7 separate regions of the Homo sapiens genome follow, and all the other regions are linked to region 1. Evidence: promoter capture Hi-C in 16 types of primary human blood cells and fetal thymus (Javierre and others, 2016). All regions are on one chromosome and are shown on one strand. Each heading gives the region's core, a stretch centred on a gene start or on the middle of the fragment in contact. The rest is flanking DNA. Distances are from core to core; before and after follow the strand shown. Region 1 holds the start of ZNF774 (zinc finger protein 774). Region 2 holds the start of LOC105370969 (a long non-coding RNA gene). Region 3 overlaps BLM (BLM RecQ like helicase). Region 4 overlaps BLM (BLM RecQ like helicase). Region 5 overlaps CRTC3-AS1 (CRTC3 antisense RNA 1). Region 6 overlaps CRTC3 (CREB regulated transcription coactivator 3). Region 7 holds the start of LINC01585 (long intergenic non-protein coding RNA 1585).

What was found. The method cuts DNA at HindIII sites, captures the fragments that hold promoters and counts their contacts. A CHiCAGO score of 5 or more calls a contact.
Region 2: a fragment that was not itself captured here is called in contact with the fragment with the promoter of ZNF774 in region 1 in 4 of 17 cell types (total B cells, monocytes, naive B cells and 1 more); the score reaches 9.5 in total B cells.
Region 3: a contact is called between a fragment that was not itself captured here and the fragment with the promoter of ZNF774 in region 1, in 4 of 17 cell types (total CD8 T cells, total B cells, naive CD8 T cells and 1 more). The highest score is 7.1, in total CD8 T cells.
Region 4: a contact is called between a fragment that was not itself captured here and the fragment with the promoter of ZNF774 in region 1, in 4 of 17 cell types (total B cells, total CD8 T cells, activated CD4 T cells and 1 more). The highest score is 5.5, in total B cells.
Region 5: a contact is called between a fragment that was not itself captured here and the fragment with the promoter of ZNF774 in region 1, in 6 of 17 cell types (fetal thymus, naive B cells, naive CD8 T cells and 3 more). The highest score is 8.1, in fetal thymus.
Region 6: a contact is called between a fragment that was not itself captured here and the fragment with the promoter of ZNF774 in region 1, in 5 of 17 cell types (naive CD8 T cells, naive CD4 T cells, fetal thymus and 2 more). The highest score is 7.5, in naive CD8 T cells.
Region 7: a fragment that was not itself captured here is called in contact with the fragment with the promoter of ZNF774 in region 1 in 5 of 17 cell types (fetal thymus, naive CD4 T cells, naive B cells and 2 more); the score reaches 7.0 in fetal thymus.

What each region holds. Positions count from the first base shown.
Region 1 is chr15:90,350,130-90,353,605 of GRCh38, reverse strand. It overlaps ZNF774 (zinc finger protein 774), which reads right to left and starts at 1,322. Exons shown (of 4, transcript NM_001004309.3): 1 at 1,195-1,322. The HindIII fragment of the contact is 4,226 bases long and covers 1-3,476 here.
Region 2 is chr15:90,837,779-90,841,426 of GRCh38, reverse strand. LOC105370969 (a long non-coding RNA gene) reads right to left here and starts at 1,701. Exons shown (of 3, transcript XR_932610.3): 1 at 1,527-1,701; 2 at 143-273. RefSeq lists enhancers at 114-408, 434-1,088. The HindIII fragment of the contact is 3,277 bases long and covers 587-3,648 here.
Region 3 is chr15:90,812,266-90,815,770 of GRCh38, reverse strand. BLM (BLM RecQ like helicase) reads right to left here. Exons shown (of 22, transcript NM_000057.4): 22 at 1-669. The coding sequence ends at 492. Among named protein-coding and RNA genes, the nearest start is that of FURIN, 55 kb to the left of the region's middle. RefSeq lists a silencer at 985-1,094. The HindIII fragment of the contact is 2,570 bases long and covers 162-2,731 here.
Region 4 is chr15:90,734,218-90,737,755 of GRCh38, reverse strand. All of the region lies in intron 1 of BLM (BLM RecQ like helicase), which reads right to left. Among named protein-coding and RNA genes, the nearest start is that of BLM, 19 kb to the right of the region's middle. The HindIII fragment of the contact is 647 bases long and covers 1,652-2,298 here.
Region 5 is chr15:90,678,634-90,682,114 of GRCh38, reverse strand. All of the region lies in intron 2 of CRTC3-AS1 (CRTC3 antisense RNA 1), which reads left to right. Among named protein-coding and RNA genes, the nearest start is that of LINC01585, 20 kb to the right of the region's middle. The HindIII fragment of the contact is 4,674 bases long and covers 1-3,481 here.
Region 6 is chr15:90,643,152-90,646,637 of GRCh38, reverse strand. CRTC3 (CREB regulated transcription coactivator 3) reads right to left here. Exons shown (of 15, transcript NM_022769.5): 15 at 1,293-3,486. The region is part of intron 2 of CRTC3-AS1 (CRTC3 antisense RNA 1); the gene reads left to right. Among named protein-coding and RNA genes, the nearest start is that of LINC01585, 15 kb to the left of the region's middle. RefSeq lists a silencer at 1-34. The HindIII fragment of the contact is 9,655 bases long and covers 1-3,486 here.
Region 7 is chr15:90,659,807-90,663,348 of GRCh38, reverse strand. The region is part of intron 2 of CRTC3-AS1 (CRTC3 antisense RNA 1); the gene reads left to right. It overlaps LINC01585 (long intergenic non-protein coding RNA 1585), which reads right to left and starts at 3,115. Exons shown (of 3, transcript NR_120371.1): 1 at 2,525-3,115; 2 at 1,866-1,956. RefSeq lists a silencer at 198-247 and enhancers at 1,249-1,308, 1,969-2,018, 2,159-2,208, 2,431-2,959. The HindIII fragment of the contact is 2,140 bases long and covers 860-2,999 here.

The sequences.
Region 1 (3,476 bases), core at 73-2,572:
AAAAAAAAAAATGCAGCCAGCATGACCACCCACTACAAAGAATATTGCATTTCAAGGGAGGAAGGACCAGACTGTGGTGAAGAAGTTTTACTCTTTCACATCTTTTGTCCCACTACAAATCACCTATTTACTACTGGAACACACACACACACACACACACACACACACACACACACACACTTTTGGGGGAAATATTTTTGTATTTACAGACATTATTATTGGTCATTTATAAAGTATTGAGTTTTTAAGGATCTAAAAACCATCTCTCTGGTTTAAAACTTTAACAAACAACAATAATGTAATTAGAAAGTAAAAATTGTAATAAGAGTTTTCAGTATTGGCCAGGTGCTGTGGCTCATGACTGTAATCCCAGCACTTTGGGAAGACGAGACGGGCGGATCACCTGGGGTCAGGAGTTCGAGATCAGCCTGGCCAACATGGTGAAACCCTGTCTCTACTAAGAATACAAAATTAGCCGGGTGTGGTGGCACACGCCTGTAATCCCAACTACTTGGGAGGCTGAGGCAGGAGAATCGCCTGAACCCGGGAGGTGGAGACTGCAGTGAAAGGAGATAGCGCCATTGCATTCCAGCCTGGGCAACAAGAGCGAAATTCCGTCTAAAAAAAAAAAAGAGTTTTGAGTATAATTTTTATTTCTACATTCATTACAAAACACAGCTGCAGGGCCCACTTGCTGGAGACAGCGCCACTGAGGAGGGGAGACGTCTTAGCCACGGTTATAGAAACCCTGTTTCCCAGCCCGTCCCTTTCCCCATGCACAGGTGACCTCAAAGGCCCCACAGCGCTGAGGGGCTGTGACTAAGTGCCACTGTGAGAAGCTCCAGTGCGTTCACCGGGTTTATTAATAGGAACATGACTGCACGCGTGGGGCCGAACCCCGTTCTTCTTCTCGGTGCTCGCGCCCTAACCGGGGTGCGGCGGTCAGAGGGTCACAGATCAGCTGAAACCCTGGGACCACCATCGAGAAGCAAGAAAACTGATTAAGAGAATGACTTATCCCGCCGACGGTATAGAGACCACAGCTACCTCTCCCACAGCCCAGCAAGACCCGGGGGCTCCCAAAGGCCAGCGCGGGAACCCCGCTGAGAAAACGTCTGGGTGGCGGGCAAGCCCCCTCCACGCCCCTCAGCAGCGCGCCGCTGCCGCCGCGGTCTCCCTCCTTGAATCACTCACCGCCCCAGGGCCCAGCCGGGGATGGAGCAGGAAGTGAGTCCTCCACCGCCGAGCCGCACCCGGCCCGCAACCCCGAGGCTGTGCCTCCCAGAACCCGACCGGGATTCGTGACAGGGCTGTGGGGACACAGGTGGGACTCCGGCTTCGACAGCCAGCGGCCGGAAAGTACCGCCCCCATCCTCTTGCTATTGGCTTTTCAGTTTCCATGGCTAGAATTTTTCTCTGTCCATAGGCTGATAGAGCTGTCAATTATCGCCTAGCCTTCTGGGAAACGTAGTCCCGAGCAAGACCTCAAAGGACTCGGAGCCGTGGATGTCCAGTTCCAAGCGTTGGAAAGTGCTAAACCCAATTCCCCAGCTACCGGTCCCCCGGAACCGCCTGTTTGGAGCCGAGGGATCTAAATGCTGTATCCTCACTGTGGCATCTGCAGATGTGAATCTCCTGGCCTCACCCACCTACCGCGGAGCAGCCTGGTGCCCACCATGAGGTCTCCCGCGCTCTGGCACTTCGCCCCTCCCCAGCGCAGAGCAGCTCAGCCCTCGGGCCTTTGCGGCCTCTCTTCTGCCCAGTCTTCCACCTCATCCCCGGCGGCCGGAGCCTGCAGGGTGTTTGCGGAGGCCAGGTCCCAGACCAACTCAAACTGGACATTGGAAAGGCCCAGCAGAAGCCCTTAGTAGAAAACAGACATTCCGCATCCTTCCCTTGGCATCAAACTCCCAGGCACATCCCCTTTCCGTCTGGTTGATAGCCAGAGGAGGCGGGCGAGGGCATCAAGTATTCTGGGAAATGTGATATCGGGCTTCAAACTGGGGAGGCTCCTGGGTCTCATGTGAGAGCCAGTGATCACTTTGGGTCGGCCCCTAGCTAAAAAACAACAAAGTCTTTCCTTAAAGTGAAGAAAATGTGCCTGTCTACTCCGTTTGTTGATTCAGTGCAATTTAGAAAAATAAAAGAACATTTTGTGATGTATTATAAAACGCTTAGAATTACCAGCCATAGAGTTTTTTTTTTTTTTTTTTTTTAGACGGAGTCTCGCTCTGTCGCCCAGGCTAGAGTGCAGTGGCACGATCTCGGCTCACTGCGAGTTCTGCCTCCCAGGTTCACACCATTCTCCTGCCTTAGCCTCCCGAGTAGCTGGGACTACAGGCGCCCGCCACCACACCCGGCTAATTTTTTGTATTTTTAGTAGAGACGGGGTTTCACCATGTTAGCCAGGATGATCTCCATCTCCTGACCTCGTGATCCGCCCGCCTCGGCTTCCTAAAGTGCTGGGATTACAGGCGTGAGCCACCGTGCCCGGCCCGAGTTAATGTTGAAGATCCCTTTGATGCTAATTCCACCATTCCTTCAACAAAAATAAGGTGCATTTTCCAGTGGATATTTATTGGGAACATTCTGTTCTCAAGATCGTTCTGGGGGCAGGGCGTGGTGGCTCACGCCTGTAATCCCAGCACTTTGGGAGGCCGAGGCGGGAGGATCACGAGGTCAGGAGATCGAGACCATCCTGGCTAACATGGTGAAACCCCGTCTCTACTAAATATAGAAAAAATTAGCCGGGCGTGGTGGCGGGCGCCTGTAGTCCCAGCTACTCGGGAGGCTGAGGCAGGAGAATGATGTGAACCCGGGAGGTGGAGCTTGCAGTGAGCCGAGATCGCGCCACTGGACTCCATCCTGAGCGACAGAGCAAGACTCCGTCTCAAAAAAGAAAAAAAGAAAGAAAAAAAAAAAAGATCGTTCTGGGAACTGTGATTACTCGGGAATCATACATAACCATTACCTTCATGAAGTTCACAGGCCAAAAGGGGAAATAAACCATAAAAGGTATCAAAATCCTAAGTAATTTTTTTTTCCATATAGCCAGTGGCATCTTAGTTATTTTGCTACACAATTATAGTCATCTGCAAGGTAACTACATTGCATTTTCGGAAACTCTGTCGACTATGAACAAATGTCTGGTTAGCAGAGGTAGTTAGACGTAGTTAGATTTAGTTAGACGAAATTGAGGAAAATGGAAATCTCAGAGGAGGTCAGTAACAAAGTAACACCCAGGAAACCTAGGGATTGCCAGTCCTCCTGTAACTGGAACAGAGTTCAGGACCTGGAGAACCGAAGGCATCTTCAGACCCCTCGGTAAGTCTTTCTAGCATTTTGCCATTAAGGAGATCATGAAGATTATTCTTCAATCTGGGACTGGAGTGGGGAGATGAATGAAGAGTCACAGAATCTGGCTGGTGGCTATCCCCTGCCGCTCTCTGCAGCTTCTGTTCCTTCTGCCTTACCTT
Region 2 (3,648 bases), core at 976-3,475, 490 kb before region 1:
TAACATCTGCCTGGTTTCCTTAAATTGGTTTAGGAGTAGAATAAAATATTTGACACATATTCTTTTTTTAATATATGTATGGAAGGCATGATTTTGCCTCTTTTTGAAGTGTCTTTTAGAAGGACGATAGTGAGAGGCTCACCGGGCAGAAGGCACGCGTGCAGAGGCCTGGAGGCTTGCTCTTCTCGGCTGCTGAGTAGCCAGTAGCCTGACGCAAATCCTTATCAGAGCAGACCACATTTTCCAGCCCCCGTTCATGAAGGGTGGAGGGAGCTGGAGAAAAATGAAAACATGCTAGTGACCAGTGGCTAGGCACTGATGAGTCTGCACAACCAGGGATTTCAGGACTTGTGTCACCTTCCAGTTATGTTTGCATTTGAGTTAAATGCACTTCTGCGGTGGAATCCATTGCATCTGGGTCAGTGCAATTGAAGTGGTCATTGTAGGGAGCCAGCACTGGGCAGGGGCCACTGCTGTGTTTAATGAATTCACCTCGTTCACAAACACAAGCAAAACTCACCAAGAACAGAAGTGAGTTGGGACATTCACAGCCTTGGTCTGAAACCAGGGAGATTCCGCAAAAGCTTATTAGGATTGCTATTCCTAGGCACATGAGCCCTTCAGTCAATTAGCTTAAAAAATTCCTGAAGTGCATACACAAAAAAAGCAAAAGAAACTGGACTTTCCATCTAAGAATGCTGGGTAATATATGCAGCATTGGAAGGAAACTGGCTTTGGGCTCTTCCAGGCTGGCCTGGAGCATGAGGCCCAGCACGGCCTGCATTAGCCTCAGGCTCTGGCGGGAAGGATCTCACTTCTCTCCCCCGTCTTTCTTGTCCATTTTGTTGGCTGGCCTAACAGCAAAACCCCCGTTCCGTCATCCTCAAGAACAAGTCCGAGCCAGGCACGGTGGCTCACACCTGTAATTCCAGCACTTTGGGAGGCCAAGGTGGGTGGATCACCTGAGGTCAGGAGTTTGAGACTTGCCTGGCCAACATGTGAAGCCGTCTCTACTAAAAATACAAAAATTAGTCGGGCATGGTGGTGCACGCCTATAATCGCAACTACTCAGGAGGCTGAGGCAGGAGAATCATTTGAACCCAGGAGGTGGAGGTTGCAGTGAGCCGAGATTGCGCCACTGCAATCTGGGCTGGGTAACGAGTGAGACTCCGTCTCAAACAAAAGAACAGGCCCTGCGTGGGTGCCTCAGCCAGGCACCACTTTGTTCCCTGAGGCCTAGCTCCCCGTGGATGTGGTGCTGTCAGGGGAGTTCGTTGGTGTAGGAGCACGGGGCATCTATGATGTGCCAGGCACTGTGCCGGGCACTGGGGAGACAACAGTGACCTGGGCACACCCTGCTCTCATGGAGCTCACGGCTAAGGAGACAATACAGTGTGGAGGGGGCTGGGCTGAGAGGAGGCGCCCAATGGGGCATGGGCACAGAGACGCCCCAGGGGACGTCCCTGCAGTGGGGGGAGGGGGGCACAGTGGTAAAGGGAAGGAAAATGGCCATCGCGTCACAGTACCTGTTGGGACCGGTTCTGAGCTCCCATCAGATCCTCTGGAGAACTCCTAGGAATGCAGGAGGTGGAGCTGAGGGGCAGAGGCCAGAGCTGGACTCCTTTCCCTGCACTGGATGGTCAGCGGGCCCTTTCCTGAACGCCAGGCCTCTTGCAGGGCCTACGTAGGGGCTCCTACTGCGGCTTCTTCCCTGGCAGAGCCCAGCAGGAGCTCCTCGGCTCCCCTAGCTCTGCTTCCTCTTTTGATTTGCATAACAATCTGCCCAGACGAGCTTTGTACCTCTGCATCAGGGCTGGAGCCCAGCGCTGTGCTCTGCCAAAGGAGGAAAAAAAAAAAAAAGCTCTTACAATAAGAAAGCCCGACGGACGGTGGTTCCTGGGCAGGCTTCCCAGGGAATCAGCTCTGGATGACCTGCTGGCTTTGGTGTGGGTTTGGGTCAGACCCAGGTGAGGGGCCCTCTTTGAATCTTCCCCCTCCTGGCATAAGGCCCAGAGTCCTGTTCGTGGGGCCTGCTGGAGCCTGGTGCCCAGAACATTTATCCTACACACACCCACATGCCAAGGGATGTAGGATAGTGTAGTCATCACAACACTGCTTGTCTTAGCAAAAGACTAGAAATAACCTGCATGTCCAACAGTAGGGGATTGGTGATTCTGGACGTCCATACAAAGAATGACCCCATAAAAAGAATGAGGTTTGGGGCTGGGTGCAGTGGCTCATGTCTGTAATCCCAGCACTTGGGGAAGCTGAGGCAGGCAGATCACCTGAGGTCAAGAGTTTGAGACCAGCCTGGCCAACACGGAGAAACCCCATCTCTACGAAAAATACAAAAATTAGCTGGGCGTGGTGGTGCATGCCTGTAATCCCAGCTACCTGGGAGGCTGAGGCAGGAGAATCGCTTGGACCCAGGAGGCGGAGGTTGCAGTGAGCCAAGATCATGCCACTGCACTCCAGCCTGGGTAACAAAGTGAGGCTCTGTCTCAAAAAAAGAACGAGGTTCCATGGGGTGTACTCACAAAGTGGGGGGTGGGGGCATCAGTTCTTGCACCCCCATGTGGGCACTTTGCCTATTCCATGCCCCTAGAGGCTGCAACAAATGCGTCAGCTGGGGATGCCCCAAACGCCCCAGGGACTCAGCGTCCCTGCTTTCCATGGCTCTAGTCCTTGCCTGGCACTGGGGCTGAGGAGTCCGCTGACGACAATGGGCCTGCCAGTCCCCGCTCCGTGGCCACGAGTGGCCCCTTCTGCACGCCCTGCCTCCGCTCCCTCATCTGTAAGATGGGGACAATCCACCGACCTTGTATGTGTGATGAGCCCCTGGCGTACAGAGCGGCTGTGCAATAAAGGTGATTCTGACCGAAGTTTGGCCCCGTGGGAACTGTAGGGTGGGGGAGCGTGCAGAGCAGGGAGAGCAGGAACACAGTCCCAGAGATGCCCTGATAGGTCTTCAGGGAGGAGCGGGGACTCCAGTGCTTGGGCCCTACCTGTCACCTGCTATGTGTGTGTTGGGGGCCTGAGCCGCCTTCACAGCAGACAGCGCTCTGGAGGGGAAGAGTTCACCTCACAATTTCCTGAGCTGGGGAGGAGGGTGCGTCAGGCAACACCGCGGTGACAGCCCCCGCCCTCGCCCCCGCCTGCTCCGAGATTTACCCAGCCCTGCTGGCAGCGGCGGGTGACCTCAGCTCACCCACCAGTCTCAGGAAGGGGTGAGGTTGTGCTGGGGGATTGCCCTGAAGCTGCTTTTGCTGCGGTGCCTAGAGGGTATGATTTGGGGGTGCTTTCGTAGGAGCTGGTGGAGTTGGTGTGGGGTGACACTTCCCAAGGCTCTGCAGGGGCAGGGGGGCCTGAGCTGAAAGAGAAGGGGGCTGAACCGGGCGCGGTGGCTCATGCCTGCAATCCCAGCACTTTGGGAGGCCGAGGCGGGCAGATCACCTGAGGTCAGGAGTTCAAGACCAGCCTGACCAACATGGTGAAACCCCATCTCTACTAAAAATACAAAAATTAGCCGGGCGTGGTGGCACATGCCTGTAGTCCTGGCTATTTGGGAGGCTGAGGCAGGAGAAGCGCTTGAACCTGGGAGGTGGAGGTTGTAGTGAGCCGAGATTGTGCCATTGCACTCCAGCCTGG
Region 3 (3,505 bases), core at 197-2,696, 460 kb before region 1:
ACTAGCCTGTTCACATCCTTGGTCCACCTGCCCCCTGGGATGTTTCTGACTGGTTCACGGGTATTTGGTATGATGGATACTAATCCTTTGTAATATATTTTCTCCTCTTTTCCCCGTCATTTGTCTTTAAATTTTGTTTGTGTTGTCTTACACGAAAAGCTTTAGTTTCACAAGGGCCCACGCGTGGCTCTTCCTTTGGCTTCTGGGTTTCGTGTTATGCTCAGAAGCTCTTGCACTGAGATGATTCAGCTGCTGCCTCAGACGTTCTGAGAAACAACGGCCACAACACTTGCAGCGGCAGCAAAACATGCTTATTCAAAAGAAAATGTTTATTTTAAAAAGAAGAACTATCACCCCCCAGCATTTATTTAAATATTAATAGAGACGAGTAAAAACTTCAAATGGTATAACAAGAATAACAGCTTTATAGTCACAGATGGTCAGATGCTGACAAACAAGAAAGAGGGTCTATGTACATTGAGATTCGGTTGTTATGAGAATGCATATGAAGGCTTAAGAAACGGTCTATTTATAGGCTTCGGTGGAGCCATAATCCCCAATTTGCTATTGGCTCCTGATGTCGCTTGAGAAGTATGTGAGGCTGAACTGGATCCAATGATGCTGGAGGATTTCGTTTTGGAAGATATCTTTCTACATGTGGCAGACCCCCTGAAATGTGACAAAGAAAAAAATCAAAATGTTAAATGAAACCAAAAATGAATGACCTTCCTCTCAACCTGCACAGAGCTACAATACCACTTCCCTGGGCCTAATGTGTCCTTGTGCATTTTCTGCCTACGAGCCCCCTAGGTAAGGTAAGTTTCCTTTACTACTTATGGAATAAAGGACCGCGGCCCTTCATATAAATTTGTTCTGGATTTGTCTTTCTGAAATGTGCAGGACTGTTTCTTAATTTTCTGACTTGTGACCAACCCACCGCCCCTCTCTCCACCCACACCTTCGGCAGCCTACAACCAGAGCCTGCAAGAGGAGCTGAGGTCCACATGTCCTCATCTATTCTGACCAAATAAAAGAAGTGAAACACCTTGCTGTAAGGCCCCAGCTCCCTGCTGACAGGCACCCCGGAATGACTGGACTTGCACAGTCCAGAGCAAGGCAGCTGTGGGGTGAGCATGCATGGGGTGGAGCTGGGTGGCCAGGAGTGGCAAAGCTGGGCGTCTTCCTGGCCAGCCCCAGGAAGCCCCAGGAAGGCTGCAGATGCGGCCTTCTGTTAGGACCGTGTCCAGCAGCTCCCTGGCTCACCTGCCTACACCCAGAGATCTGCCAGCTCTCCCTCCCACTCGCTGCCTTCTAAAGCCAAGGAAGAAGCCGCCAGAGCCGATTACCAAGTCCTTCCAGCATCTCACTTTCCTTGCAGACCTTAAGATAACAGCTCCCTTCCCACCCTTAAGTAAAATAAAAACAAACAAAACCATGGGGCCGGCATGTTTACAGTGATGGCTGTGGGCAGCATTACCCGCAGAAGCCTTTCCTGCTGCTCTGTAACCGGCTGATGTCAGGCCCCACACTAATTCCACGGCACCAGGGCATACAAGTAGCCTCCCGTCTGAATTGAGGGTATAGGGCCACAGCCTGTGGGTAATGACATTCTGATGGAGCTCCATGACTTAAACTCTGGCTCCAAGGCAGTTTTACTGCAGAACTGGCAGAGATCTGCTAGACTGGCAGAGATGCAGCCTGAAGTTTCCCTATGCTGATTTCCTGCTGAGAAATTAAGCCCAGAGAGAAAACCTGCTGTTTATGTTGATTTACAGAATGAATCGGCCAACAGCAGCCTCCATTTCACCTGGGCCATCCATTTACTCCCACTCAGAGAGCCCAGAACACAACTGGTTCATTGTGTGTTGTTCTGAAGATGTGAAACTCTGAGGGTAGGGTGGGGAGGTGAGGTTGCTGGCAGAGAGCCACATTTATTCTTTCACTGCACAGGGACTCTCAATCCGGGGAGCACACTGGGTCGGTGGAAAGGAGAGTGGAGCAAAAAGAGGCTGCTCCAAGGGTAACACAAAGTCACACAGTGCACTGGCTTTAGCTGGTAGGGCTTAAAAAAGAATCCCATCTTGGCTGGGCACAGTGGCTCACGCCTGTCATCCCAGCACTTTGGGAGCCAAGGTGGGTAGATCACCTGGGGTCAGGAGTTCGAGACCAGCCTGGCCAACATGGTGAAACCCCATCTAAAAATACAAAAATTAGCCCAGCGTGGTGGCGTGCACCCATAATCCCAGCTACTTGGGAGGCTGAGGCAGGAGAATAGCTTGAACCCGGGAGGCAGAGGCTGCAGTGAGCCAAGATGGTGCCACTGCACTCCAGCCTGGGTGACAAGAGCAAAACTCCATAACGACAACAACAACAACAAATCCCATCTTAAACACCCAGGCTCACTGAAAACAAGCATGGAAATGGGTACAAGTGTGAGCTTTACTGCTTCTTATCAGATTAGGTTCCAGATGATGCTGCAAAGTGCTTCACTCTTACAAACAAAAGTTGTGAAAATTAAATAAGGGAGCCAATAGCAATATGGTTTGCTTTGTTCTAATACATAAAGATGAGATGGAAGACCATGCGTGTTTTTTAGGAGTCTCCACAGGCAACATGCAGAAGTGAACGTGCTCTGGGCAGGTGTGGGCAGGCCAGTGTCCGCTTCTACCTTTGAAATCGAGACCAGGCAGGGTTGTCCTCCGATAAGCCCTCCCCAGGCCAGGCCTAAGCTTCCTCTTCAAAAACCCTGGGTGTTGAGCCAGATGCCTTTTAAGGTCTCCGGCTCTGTGTGAGTTACTGAGGAAATGAGTATTTCCCAAAGTGGAGGAATAAATGATGGAAATAAGAAAATGTTCTCACTGAAGAGCACTTACTGATCACTTGCGCACTCAAAACCACAAAATTAAACTAACGTTTTCTAATGCCTTTAATTTCGGTACTCTGGCAGGAGGATTAGCACATACAAGATTTTGTTTATGGACTTAACAAGAAAATGACAATTTGGTAATGTCTGCCTTCCTTTCTCTTTCCCCACTCAGTTCTTGTTTTTTATTACTCAGAAGGACAAGAGGTAGAAAAACTGCAAAAGAAAACACAACAGCTTGCAAAAGTTGACTGTGGACTTTTTTTTGGTTTCTTTTTTCTGCAAGCAACTCTGTTACAATATACAGTTACTTTGGGGTCAAGTTCTCAAGACTGATGGAATGGTCTCCCTCCTGCCAGGCCTAACCTACTAGCCAGAAGGCAGAGGGTGCCCTGGCAGAAAATCAAAAAGCGGCTGTCAGAAACAATGCAATTATGAAGAAAGAAGGAAACTGCCAAGATCATCACACATATCAGACCATGCTGTCTTTGTTGTTCCCCTGGTGTGCAGAAAGCGCCCAGAACAGACATGTCCCAGACGAGCGGCCCAGGAAAACATGGGAAGGGGAAGACAGAAGCCATTTACGCAACCCCTAAAGAGGCCTGGCTTGACTGAACTTTTGGTTTCTCTGTTGTGGCTTCT
Region 4 (3,538 bases), core at 726-3,225, 380 kb before region 1:
AAGTGTGAAGTTAAATTGTTGATTTCAGATCTTTCTTTTTTAATGTAAGCATTTGTAGCTATAAATTTCCTTTCTAGTACTGCTTTCACTGTATTCCATGAGTTTTGGCATGTTGTGTTTTCGTTTTCATTGTCTCAAGATATACTCTAATGTCTCTTGTTTTCTTCTTTAATCCATTGGTTCCTCTGTCCTTTAAAGTGTTCCCATCAGGCACTTTCTTATTACCTGGCACAACATTCATGGTCTTCATTTACTTTTCCTGCTTCAGCCATAGAATCACCATTTCCTCAAACAGCCTTCATTTATTTTAATGAGGAAAAATCTTTAAAATCTAAGACCTGGCCATTAGATATGATCTGCTACTTGCATATCATTGCTCCTAGGCCCTTTTAGTAGACAGATCTAGGAAATATAAACACTTCTATCTATTTCTGTATCTACAGCTATACATCCATTGATCTATCCATCTATCTTAAAATTCATAGAAAAAACCATCATATATTTATTCATTTATTCAATCTGAAACTATAGGAAGTAATTTCAAATTGCTACACTCCTGTCACTAAAAAAAAAAAACCTACTAAGAAGAGTTCAAAATTCAGTTGCATTTCTTTCTTCAGATTAAGGGTACATAATTAAAGTACTATATTCAAAAGTTACTTGATTGGTCAGTCCCACCTCACCTTCAGGGTGATTACATTCATCATTTGAATTAGATTAGTTTGTGTTTGTACTGTTCTTGTGGATTTGATTTTTGAATATATAAAACATTTACATAGTTCTAAAAGTTAAAACTACATAAAAGACTGTTTTTCCCCACAGAGAAGTGTTCTTCCCTCTCCATCCTTTGCCATCTACTTCCTGTGGGTTATCAATTTCAATAATTTCTGATTTATCTTTCCTGTTTTTCTTTTTGCAAAATAAGCAGACATTAGAGTCTCATATTTTCCCTTCTTTCTTACATAAAAAATAGCACACTGTATGTACGCTTTCCATTCATGTTAGAAATCACTCTACACCCGTTTGCAAAGATTTTCCTCATTCTTCTTTACAGCTGTACAGTACTCCATTGTGTAGATATTTACCAACAAATTTCCTGTATGGACATTTAAGGTATTCCCTGATATTTTACAATTACAAATAATGCTGCAACAAATAACTTTGTGCATTCATATTTCCCTACTGTTGAAAACGTAAGGCCGGGCACGGTGGCTCACACCTGTCATCCCAGCAATTTGGGAGGCAGAGACAGGATTGCTTGAGTCCAGGAGTTCAAGACCAGCCTGGGCAACATGGTGAGACTCCGTCTCTATAAAAAAAATTTTTAAATTAGTAAGGCGTGGTGGCATGCACTTGTGGTCCCAGCTACTCCAGAGGCCAAGGTGGGATCAATTGAGCCTGGGAGTTTGAGCTGCAGTGAGCCAAGATCACACTACTGCACTTCAGCCTGGGCAACAAGCAAGACCCTGTCTCAAAAAAAAAGGAAAGAAAGAAAAGAAAATGTATCTTTAGGGAATATTTCTACAAGTGGAATGGCTGGGTCAAAGGGCAAATGCATGTGTAGTCTGCTGGATTGCCAACTTCTCCCTCAAAGGAGGTTTTACAAGTTTGCATTCCTCACAGCCTCACCAATGGGGCTTCTTGTGAAGCTTTCTAATTAGTGCAGAGCTGATAGGTGAGAAACGGTATTTCAGTGCAGCTTTAAATTTACACTTCCTGTTTAGGTGAAATTGAATATTTTCTTCACATATTTAAGGATGGTTTTTGAATCTTTTTAAAAAATTGTATCTGCTCATGTATTCTGCCTTTTTAACCAAATTTTAGTATTTTTTTCTCTCAATTTAGACTAGGGATAGTAGGTCTTTAAAATGTATTTTGCAGATTTTTTTCCTGGTTTCTCATCTATCTTTTAAATTTGCTTATGGTGTTTTTCATTTTTGTAATCAAGAATTTGCTTTTCAATGTAGCCAATTTTTCCCCCTCTTTTATTGCCCTTCTCCACATCCAGGTTACAGAAAACTCATCTATGTATTCTTCTAGTAGGTAATTTAAAAAAAATTAGATTTCTGGTTCATTTGGAGTTTATTCCTGTGTCTGATATAAAGTATAGATATAATTTTGTTTTTTCAAGTGGCTAACAAGTTGTCCCAGCACTATTTATAAAGAGTCCATCTCTGCCCTAATAATTTCAGAACTACCTTTATCATACACTAAATTCTTCATGTGTTTAGGAGACTAATTATTGACTTTCCATTCTATACCATTGGTCTATACCACAATATTATCATGATAGAAGCTTTGCAACATGTTACAATATCTGGAAGTCTACTTTCTCTTTGTAGCTCTTCTGTTTTCCTATTCTTATATGTTTATTTTTCTATATGAACTTTAGAATCAACTTGTCTAGTGCCAGAACTCTGTTGATATTTATATTGAGATTGCATTAAATTTATATATTAACTTAGGTATATGTATTAACTTAAATATATATATATATATATATATATATATATATATATTAACTTAGGCACTTTTATGATGTTGTTGTCCTGTCCTAGAACAAAAGATTTCATTTGTTTAAGGCTATTTTTGTTATTCAGAAGTGTTTTAAAGATTTCTTCACCTAGGTTTTACATGTTTTTAAATTCCTAAATATTTTCTCTTTTTCTTGTTGCTGTAAATGGGATTTTACCCTTCATTATATATTCAAACTTGTTGTGTATATGAAGACTACTGATTTTTGCATATTCTTATAAAATTCCTTTTCTGTTTAGTTAGTTTCATTATTGATTTTCTGCAGTATTCCAGACACACTACCATATCACCTGCAAGTAGGGACAATATTACTTTTTATTTTCCAAATCTTGTGCCTCTAATTGATTTATCTAACTGCATTGGCTAAGCCCCCAGTACAATGTTAAATACAAGTGGAGTTGGTGAGTATCTCTATATTTTTCTCAATCTTAGTAAAAATGCCTCTAGTATTTTCCTATTAGATAAAATACAGGATTTAGGAATAAAGTCTCTCTCTCTCTCTCTCTCTCTCTCTCTCTCTCTCTGCGTGTGTGTGTGTGTGTGTGCGTGCGTGCGCGCGTGTGTGTGTATGTGTGCGTGAGAGACAGAGACAGAGAGAGAGAGAGAGAATACCATCATTAAGAAGTATTGATTGGCCAGGCATGGTGGCTCACATCTGTAATCCCAGCATTTTGGGAGGCCGAGGTGGGCAGATCACCTGAGGTCAGGACTTTGAGACCAGCCTGGCCAAGATGGTGAAACCGCATCTCTACTAAAAATACAAAAATTAGCCAGGTGTGGTGGTGGGCGCCTGTAATCCCAGCGACTTGGGAGGCTGAGGCAGGAGAATGGCTTGAACCTGGGAGGTGGAGGTTGCAGTGAGCTGAGGTCATGCTACTGTACTTCAGCCTGGGCGACAGGGTGAGACTCCATCTCAAAAAAAAAAAAAGAAGTATTGATTACAATATAATTTCTTAAGAGTTTTTACTATATATTGGTGTTGAATCTTGTCAAAGGCTTTTTC
Region 5 (3,481 bases), core at 224-2,723, 330 kb before region 1:
CAGTTCCTTCTTTTTTTTTTTTTGAGATGGAGTCTTGTTCTGTTGCCCAGGCTGGAGTGCAGTGGTGCAATCTCAGCTCACTGCAACCTCTGTCTCCCAGGTTCAAGCAATTCTCCTGGTTCAGCCTCTGGAGTAGCTGGGATTACAGGCACGTGCCATCACACTCAGCCAATTTTTGTATTTTTAGTAGAGACAAGGTTTCACCATGTTGGCCAGGCTGGTCTTGAACTCCTGACCTCAGGTGATCCTCCCACCTCAGCCTCCCAAAGTTCTGGGATTACAAGTATGAGCCGCCGTGCCCAGCCAGTTCCATTTTCTCTATTGCTGAAGGTCCTAGTGGTCACTCGTCCAACCTCCACATTCCTCAATGGCCCACATCAGATGAGTCAGTTCCTTCATCAGTGATGGCAGTGATTGCAGGGAACGCTCAGCCTCCTTGGCTCTGATTCTGCCTTACCAGAAGGGAGCCCTTCTGACTTGACCTCGTGGGTGCCATCGAGTGTGGTTCCAGCTCCGCATGTTCCTGACTACTCCTGCACAAGTCTGGGAGGTGAGGGATGTGGGAGGCGCAGCTCTCAGAGCCTCTTACAGAAACAACCAGCCTGGTGCTGCGGTGGCAAGAAACAGACACTGACCCCCGACCCCAAGGGAAATTCACAAGAAGGCTATGGAGTCCCTCACAACATGGAAGGGGAAATTGAAGAGCCTGGTCTGGAAAAGACAGAAAACAGGGAGGCCGTGGGGACCTAGAAGCTGGAACCAACTGAGAGTCTCATCTGGCCACACTGTAAAGATGTGTCAGCCCCAACCTCTTCTTGGCTTTTGCTTCCTCCATTCAAGGGTCAGAGTCTGAGTGCCTAGGTGGGCCCAGAGCCTTCCCTCTCCAGCCTCCCTGCTGCCCCAGAGAGGACAAACACCATTTCTGACTCCCCTACATACTCAGAGTGCATTCTCAGGATCACAGTAGAGGAAGGACTGAGAAAATAAGTGCTCATGAGGCTGATGGGCTGCCTTAGCTTTATCAGCAGCAGAAGAATTCTGGGATGCTCACCTCCCAGAAGACCCTCCACAGTTCCCAAGAGCCTCTTCATCCATAATGAGGGTGACAAAACTTCTCTGAGTCACAGACAGCTTTGAGACTGGGATGGAAACAGAGGATTGCATAAGTTTCAGGGGGCTGCTGGACCCCCATTCCTGAATCCTAACTCTGGGACACCTTCTCCAGCCCGTGTCTGCCTGGCTTAGCTGCAGGCCTCATACACTGTCTCCCTAGGACCTGCAGTTGAACCATTCCATGCTCACGGACACGTGGATTACATGAGCAGGGCCCTAGGCCTCCTCCTAACCTCAGATTTTTTTTTTTTTTTTTCTAAAAGGGCAAGGCACTATTTTAGTCACTGTTTTGCAGGGAGAAAAAAATCCTGTTTATCCTTATGATTCATTTTGGTGGTTTTTGGATAATGTTGTATTGATTCATGACGACTCACTCAGCATCTGGTATGAATTAAATGAGACTTTCTCTTTTTGACAGTAAAATGAAAGATCTTAAACAACGCTAACATTAAAAAGAGGCCTGGAGGGAATACAAGAGTTGGAGCAATCCTGGGGACTTGAGTCAGTTCAGTGGGATGCCCTACCACCTTGGCAAAGCCAGCACAGTGCCATGCAGTTCCAGGGCAGTGCTGCTTGTGACCTTATGTCTGCTCCTCATGAGTACCACGATGACTCCTTGCAGGTCCCATTGCTTCCCACCATATGCTGTTTTATCTTGTAGTCATGATCCCAACTGGACAAATGGGGAAACAGAGGCAGGAAGCTGGCATGGATGTGACATCAGGAGTCAGATTTTCTCTGGTTTGTTCCAGGAAGTTTTCCGTAGAATCCCAGAGGACATCCAGTGATTCTTAACGGGGGATGATTTTGGCACCCCCAGGGGTATTGGGCAATGTCTGGAGGCATTTTGGTTGCCACAACTAGGGAGGTGCTACTGGCATCTACCTGCAGTGTCAGAACAGCCTCCAAAGAACAAAATGATCCAGCCCACATGTCAATAGTGCCGAAGTTGAGAAACCCTGCTCTAACCCAAAGGGACTCCAAATCCCAAGTGATGTGGTGGTTGTCAGGGCATTAGCAGACTTAATGCAAAGGCCTCTCAATATGGCAAAACAGATTGTCTGAAAAATTATGTAATTTTTGTGTTTAAAAAGAGTAGAACCTGGGCAACATAGCAAGACCTTGTCTACAAACATATTCAGGCTGAGAAAATGAAAAATAAAAAAAGACCCTGTCTTGGCCGGGTACGGTGGCTCACGCCTGTAATCCCAGCACTTTGGGAGACGGAGGCAGGTGGATCACAAGGTCAGGAGTTCAAGACCAGCCTGGCCAGTATGGTGAAACCCTGTCTCTACTAAAAATACAAAAATTAGCTGGGCGTGGTGGCACGTGCCTGTAGTCCCAGCTACTCAGGAGGCTGAGGCAGGAGAATCACTTGAACCTGAGAGGCGGAGGTTGCAATGAGCCGAGATCGTGCCACTGCACTCCAGCCTGGGCAACAGAGTGAGATCTGTCTCAAAACAAAAGACCCTGTCTTTACGAAAACAAACAAACAAACAACAACAAATATATATAGAGAGAGACAGAGAGAGAGTGTCAGGTATGGTGGTATGTGCCTGTGGTCCCAGCTGCTCAGGTGACTGAAGCTAGTGGATCCCTTGAGCCCAGGAGTTCAAGGCTGTTGTAAGTCGTGACTGCCATGCACTCCAGCCAAGGAGACAGTGAGATCCTGTCTCAAAAAAAAAAAAAAAAAAAAAAAGTATATATCTTGCCTAGATCATGGTCTCTGTATGTCATTCTCTGCTAAAAGAAACTAGGGCTCCTGCCAAATGGCCAGTCCAAGGTTGGGGCAGCTGAACAAGGAAGGTATCATCACTATGGAGTCTGATTAAAAGGACACAGGGGTTCATGTGAAAAGGCTCTCTCTGACCAAATACAGGATGATTTGAGCAACAAAAAGAACAATGCAAGTATGTTAAAATTCGTATTTGTAAGTTGAAAGAGGAGCTTGTGATCAAAAGATGAAAATGTTCCTTGGCCGGGCATGGTGGCTCACACCTGTAATCCCAGCACTTTGGGAGGCCGAGTCGGGTGGATCACCTGAGGTCAGGAGTTTGAGACCAGCCTGGCCAACATGGTGAAACCCCATCTCTACTAAAAAATACAAAAAATTAGCCAGGTGTGGTGGTGGATGCCTGTAATCCCAGCTACTCAGGAGGCTGAGGCAGGAGAATCGCTTGAACCTGGGAGGTGGAGGTTGCAGTGAGCCGAGATTGTGCCACCGCACTCCAGCCTGGGCAACAAGACCAAAACTCCGTCTCAAAAAAAAAGAAAAGAAAAAAGAAAAGGTACCGCCAAATCATGTGACTTCTAGAGGTTTCCTTTATGAAAAAAAAAAAGTGGTGCTTCCATTACCTCTTAAACCCAG
Region 6 (3,486 bases), core at 443-2,942, 290 kb before region 1:
GGGAGGTCGATGGAAAGAAGATGATGGTGGAGGGGGAGGATGATAGGAGACAGGCATGGCCTGGGTGGTAGAATATGCAGAAAAGCCTTACTGGAGCCAGAGAGGATTTCGGAGGGGAGAGAGTGGCCAAAGGGTCAGGATGCGGCTGACATCAGAGGGCCTTGGACAGAGGCAGGAGAGTAGGGAATCCTGGAGGGCTCCCTGGGGCTGCGGGCAGAAGGAGGCTGAGCAGGAGTGCTCCTCCAGGAGAGGCAGGACACAGGGCTGTGGCATGAGGGGTAGCCGGCGGGGAAAGGAGAGTTTTCTGTTTGTTCTGAGGAAGGAGACTGGGCATCTTCACAGGCTGATGGGGAGGTGCCATCAGAGAGGGCTAAGTAGAAGGCCCTAGAACATCAGCAAGTCCTTGCGGAAGGTCAGGTTGACGTGGAAACAGGACCTCGTAAGGCATAGGGACGCTGGGGAAGGCGCGACGGGCCATGGGACGGAATGGGGAGCAGCTGGGACACGGCGGGAGCTGGCCCAGGTGGCCTGGATGGGAGGCAAGAAGGCCTCATGTGGTCTGATGAGCCTTGAGGAGAGGAGGGCGTGGGTGCCCCACGTGGCAGGAGAGGGCTGGGTCAGCACAGCCTGGAAGTGCTGGTTCTTCCCGCAGGGCTCCCAGCAACAGAAAGCTCAGCCCGAGTGACGTGGTGGCAGGTCTTGAGGAGGAAGAGTGGCGTGGTGGCAGGAGAAGGGGCCTGGGGGTGCCACGGAGGCCACGAGCCAGGTGGGCCCGGGCAGAAGCAAGGGAAGCTAGGAGAGGACGGGCAGGCTGAGAAGAGGGGACACGGAAGAATTCTCAGTGCGGTCAAAGAACAGGGTGTGTGTAGACCAGAGTGGAAATGGGGGCTCAGGAAGTTAAAGTCAGAAACAGGATTTCCAGGTAGGATTTCAGGAGACAGTCACCTTTATGACAAGTGCTAGATGTGGCTGTTCGCGTTGAACCCTGCTGGGATGGGGGTCTGGGGAAGGGACAGGGCTAGAGGCCAACCCAGGACAGAGTATCTGGTGGAGGAAGGGCCGTGGGCAGGGGTGTGGAGCGGGTGCTGGCTGTGGGGGCAGGAGACCCAGCTGCCTCCAGCTAAGGGAACTGAGTGCCCCTTCACGTATCACAAGAAGGCCTGACCCACAGCTGGTACAGGGCCTGCCTTGCCAAGGCTCCAAATCCTAGCTGCAGGCTGAGCCGTGCAGGAGGCGGTGAGATTAAGGCTCCCCACCAACCCCTCACCCAAGTGAAGAAAAACACCACCAAATGCAGAGACAACCTCATTGTGATGCTTTTAATTACAAAAGATGTAAAATGATGCATTATAAAACTTGGAAGCAACTTTATACAAATTCCAATTTTTAAATATGGTTGAACAGGGTGCCCTGGGGGTTAGGACACTGGCAGGAAGTCTGATTAGTTGCTGGGATGGTCCCATCCATGAAGCACTGGACACATGCTGGGAACCATCTGTGCATAAATCAGAAGAGCCAACAAGAGTGGGAACAGGAAAGGTCTGCAAATACGCATATGGACTTGAAGATACAACACCAGCTCAGGTAATATACAGCAGGCGGAGGAGAAATGAAACAGGAGAAACAGGACAAAGGAGAATTCATGACATGATCAAGAAACCCCTTCTCCTAACCCCCTATGTCCTAAAACCCACAACCATACAGAAAGAAAAAATGGAAATGCAGACAGGTTTTTAGTTCTATGCTGTTTAACTGCTGTAAGTGAGAGTAGTACAATGGTCGATTTCTTGTGACAAAACTAAATAATGAAAAATAGTTTACTCTGAAGTATGCAGCTGCTTCAAATGCTGAGGACCACAACTGGTTTTGTTACAAAGGCCGCAGTGAGTGCAGGCTCACGTGCTGTGGGCCAGGGCGACCCTGCCCGTGGTGAGTCCTCCACACCTTCTAGGCAGAGTGGGTTGTACGATGCCCAAAACCTTTCACAAGAAAAGATCGGACTCACTCATAGACCTAAGGACAAATTGAATTCAGTGCTAAACCATATTGCCCCCAGTGTACACCCCCAATAAATCACTTCCCCGGAGGTCTGTTTTCACAAGTCACCTGGAGAACGCCTTTGGGGCAGTAGGGTTCACTGTGTAGGTCTTGGGGTCTCTGTTGCCAGGCAGGGTGGCTGCTGTGCAGACAAACTGAACTGGGACCCGGATATGACGATACCCATGGGTAAGGCACTATGTGAAGAGTGACTATGCTGAGACCTCTGTTTTATAAAAACACAATTCTTGAAACATCAGCACCATCGCCTGTTGAGAGTGAGATCAGGTTTGGAAGCCCTTTGACACAGGAGCTGGTTTCTTTTGGCACATGGGGTGCTGGGTAGCATTGCGACTGAAGGCTCTTTAACAAAAAGCCACCCCCTCTGAGATCTTGAGCACAAAGGGATCTGAAAGTGTAACTGGGAACAGGGCAGGCCAGCAGGCCCTTCCTGAGCTGGAAATCAGGCGAGGAGGACTCTGGTTTGATTTCCCAATTCCACAGCAAAGATTTGGGGCAAATGTGAAACAGGAATACTTGGATTCCAGAGGAAGGTGGAGGGGCACCCCATGAGGGTTATTTTAAAGATGAGAGGCAAGGTCAGAAGATAGAAATGGAATGAGGTCGGGAGAGGCTAACCAGCCCAGGGTCTTGTGACCACGACTCCTTTTACATAAGGGACAGGTGTGCCAGATTCAGACCCTCATTGTACAGCCTTGCTCCTCTGGGTGGAACAGTCCAGCAACCCTCAGTACACTCCAGGGTCTCCTGGAAGGGCAATGGCTGTCCAAGCAAAGGTCCTGGCATCTTCCGTCTCTCCTTCAGGGTTCTCCTCCTCTCCACCCTGTCCTCTCACAGCCTAGACCCCCCCCTCCCCCTGCAGTGCTCTGCCCCCTTCAAACCTACTGGCATCACCCAAGTTAGAGGAGGCAGGCGGTGGTGGAAATCTGGCCCATCTATTTTATGAGAAGGTATTGATGACTAATGATGCTTCCATGAATTAGGCCTTCGTTTTACTATAAACTATTTTTTCAACCTCAAAGAATGAATCTCTACTTGAAGCAATTTAGAGCCAAACGTGGATCTGAGAAGGAAGATCTTCCTGGGTGGGGCCCAGCCAGGATGCTCAGGGCACTCACCTGCTCAGCCCTTCCGGATGTACTCAGAAGACAGCTCCCACCCACCCGCGTGGAGCACAGCCCAAGGAGAATGCAGTGCCCGGCTTCACTGTGATTTGGTCACCTAGTGTTAAAAGCATATTAAAGTGCATGCTTCACCATAGGCACGAGTGCTAGAAAAGCTAAAGCTCTGAGAAGATCTGGCAGGGAAGGGGATAGCTACAGGTGAGCCTGCCTTACGGCATGGCGGACGCACTCATTCATCATGCGCTGCACGCACGGTTCTGCAGCACTCACTCCAGCACACGACTGTGCTGCCACGCACGTGTTA
Region 7 (3,542 bases), core at 680-3,179, 310 kb before region 1:
CTGTGCTCAGGGCTTTCTCACTGGGATCAGATTAATTTTCTTCCTCTTATATTCAGACCTCCATGCAATTCATGTGTAAATCCAACAAGAGCAAGTGGATGTTTAAACCCTTGTAGCATGTATGTGTAAATAAAGAGAAGAAAGGAAGGAGGAATGGAGCGGAGGGGAGAGGACAATTTAAATAGTGCCAGCGAGTCTACCTATCATTCTACTCAGAGTGTGTGCCCAGAATAAGCAGAGATAGATGCGATGGGAGCCTGTTACTCTCTCAGTGGGTCTCACAAATGCCTCTTACACTGTGAGCATCTCATTATGAGGACTGTGACTTTCATGTCTAAAGATGTGTATTTTTTGGCCAGGCACGGTGGCTCACGCCTGTAATCCCAGCAATTTGGGAGGCTGAGGTGGGCGGATCCTCTGAAGTCAGGAGTTCAGGACCAGCCTGGCCAACATGCTGAATCCCCGTCTTTACTAAAAATACCAAAAAAAAATTAGCCAGGCATGGTGGTGCATGCCTGTAATCCCAACTACCCGGGAGGCTGAGGCAGGAAAATCACTTGAATCCGGGAGGCAGAGATTGCAGTGATCGCGAGATCACTCCAGCCTGGGCAACAGGGCGAGACTCTGTCTCAAAAAAAAAAATAAAATAAAATAAATAAATAAATAAATAAATAAATGTATGGGTAATTTAAGGGATTTTCATGAGTAACTCTGTATGGGATAAAGTCTTACGTAGAGATTTTAGAATCACTCCTCCGATAAGATGTGACCCTATCATACTAGACTTGTCAACCACAGTGTCTGAGCGGCCATGGGACTTCTAATTGACTAAGGTAGGCAGACACATCTCCCTGAAGCTTCCAATTTATAGGCCACCTGGCAATCTATGGCATGGCTTGGTACAGACAGATAAGATGAGCCAATCATATTCCCCTTCTCTGGAATCTGAAATTGGGAATAACCAAAGGAAGAGGCACTTAGCCATGGAAACTGAGGCTTCATGAAATGCACTGTCATTTTTGCAATACCCTATTGGCTACACAGGTCAGCTCTATTCAATATAGGAAGGAACTTCATGGCACAATTCATTAATTTAACATTTGTTGAGCACCTATGATGTGCCAGGCACTGTTCTAGGTCCTGAGGATATGGTGATGAACAAGATCCCCACTCTCATAGCTTACCCAGCAGATGCCCTAGGCAGGCAATGAATAAATATATGAGCAAGATGAAAAGAGAATGCCAGAAAGCCCTGAAGTTTTGGAGCAAAGCCATGAACTCTTTTCACAACTATTTCCTTTTTGAAAAACATCTCTCCACTTGCTGTTGGGTTCTGTTGTTTGTGAGTGCAAGGATGGAAGAAGGCAGATGACGATGTTAAGCAGCCAAAGGGGTGGACTGTTCAGGCCATGGAGTTAGTGTAGCAGGAGATTAACAATAATAACTAAGGCTGGGCGCAGTGGCTCACGCCTGTAATTCCAGCACTTTGGGAGGCTGAGACAGGCAGATCATCTGAGGTCAGGAGTTTGAGACCAGCCTGGCCAACATGGTGAAATCCTGTCTCTACTAAAAATGCAAAAATTAGCCAGGCACAGTGGTGGGTGCCTGTGATCCCAGTACTTGGGAGGCTGAGGCAGAAGAATTGCTTGAACCCAAGAGGCGGAGGTTGCAGTGAGCCAAGATTGCACCACTGCACTCCAGCCTGGGCGACAGAGTGAGACTCCATCTCAAAAATAATAATAATAACTGATAATAATATAGAACAATTCTAACAATATACTGTGATAAAACTGATGTGAATGTGGTTTCTCTCTCTCTCTCTCTCTCTCTGTCTCTCTCAAAATGCCTTATTGTACTGCACTCACCTATTTTTAGATGGTGGTTGACCGCAGGTAACTGAAACCACAGAAAGCAAAACTGCAATGTGGGGGGGCTGCTTGCATGCTCCTTTCAGACCTGTTTGTGAGAGAGTTTTAACTGGAGGGTATCTAAATAATCAGAGAGTGGGAAGAGAAAGGGGTACTCACTTTTTATAGTTTTGTATTGTTTGTGAATGTTTTCTATTTCATATGTTTTGTAATTAAAGCCAAAAAGGGTAATGACAAAAAGGAAAAAAAATGCTATGTGTCTGGCTTTTGGGAAGTTATTAGAGGGAGTGGAAATTCTACCACCTCCTATTGCTAAATCTCATTAAAGTGCCCTTGAAATCAACCCAAACCAACTCTCAGGCACGGCCAGAACAACGGAGGCAGAGCAGAGCTCAGGATCCTGAATCCACACCCCCCGGCCACTCCTGGTGGGAAGAGAAGAAGGGGGCTCGTTTCCTGTGGTTCCCACCCTACCTGGCTGGAGAGGCTGATGTGGGGCGAGGTGTGACCACCAGTGCATGTAGGAGGCGGAGAAGGCAGTTTCTCCCACTGGCCGGTGCCCTGGGCCCAGCCCAGGACGGGGAACTAGGACAAGAGCCCAGCCCTCCAGCATCAGGTCTGGCGTGGCTCTGGGAGGAAGGAGGAAGAAAACTCACCCATGTCACCCCAAGTCATGGGGCATTTCCAGTGAGCACATACAGACTTAGGAACCCGGGAGAAAGCCTGGAGGCTAGAAAAGCTGAGACCACAGTCAGCTGGGCTGCAGATCTTTGCTCCGCCTTCCTCCAGACAGCACAAGTGACTCAGCCCTCCCCAGGGTGCTGCTTCTCGCTCTGACACCACGATTTGGCCTCCTCTCACTCACAACTCTATCTCCTCTCTGTGTCATTCCTCCTACTCAGGGCCGATAGTCAAAATATCAAACCACTAATAAAGCATGGGCACCTGCCAGTCAGACTACACACCAGCTGGGAACAATGGCTAGAGGTAGCAAATTGCCCCAAAACTTAGTGGCATGAAACAACAAACATTTGTTACATAACACACTAATGGGTCAGGAGTTTGGGTGGTTCTGGCTCAGGGCCTCTCATGAAGTTGTCAGCATGTCAGAGTTGGAACCATTTGAAAGCTTGGCTGGGGCTGGAGGATCCTCTTTCAAGGTGTCTCATTCACAAGGCTGTCGGCAGAAAGCCGCAGTGCCTCCCCAGTGTGTGGGCCTCTCCATAGGGCTGCTTGAGTATCTTCACAACATGGTGGCTGGCTTCCCCAGAGGGAGACATTTGAGAGACCAAGGCAGAGTCACAATGTCTTTTATGACCTATCCTTGAAAGTTATATACCGTCACATTGCAGCATCCTATTGGGTCAGCCCTAGTCAATGTGAGAGGGGCTACACAAGAGTGTAAATACAAGGATGCAAGGATCACTGGAGGATGTTTTGGAGGCTGGCTACCCCAGGTACTATATTATGTCCTGTTTAAAACTCTCTAATGGCTTCCCACTAACCTCAGAATAAAATCCAAATGTCTTACCATGATCTGCAAGGCCTGGCATGAACTGACTCCTACCTACTTTCCAATCTCATTATGTTCCTCTTTATTCACCTGCACTAAACTCCAAACACATCAACCCTCCCTACATCCATCAACATCTGAAGCTCATCCTTTACATTTTC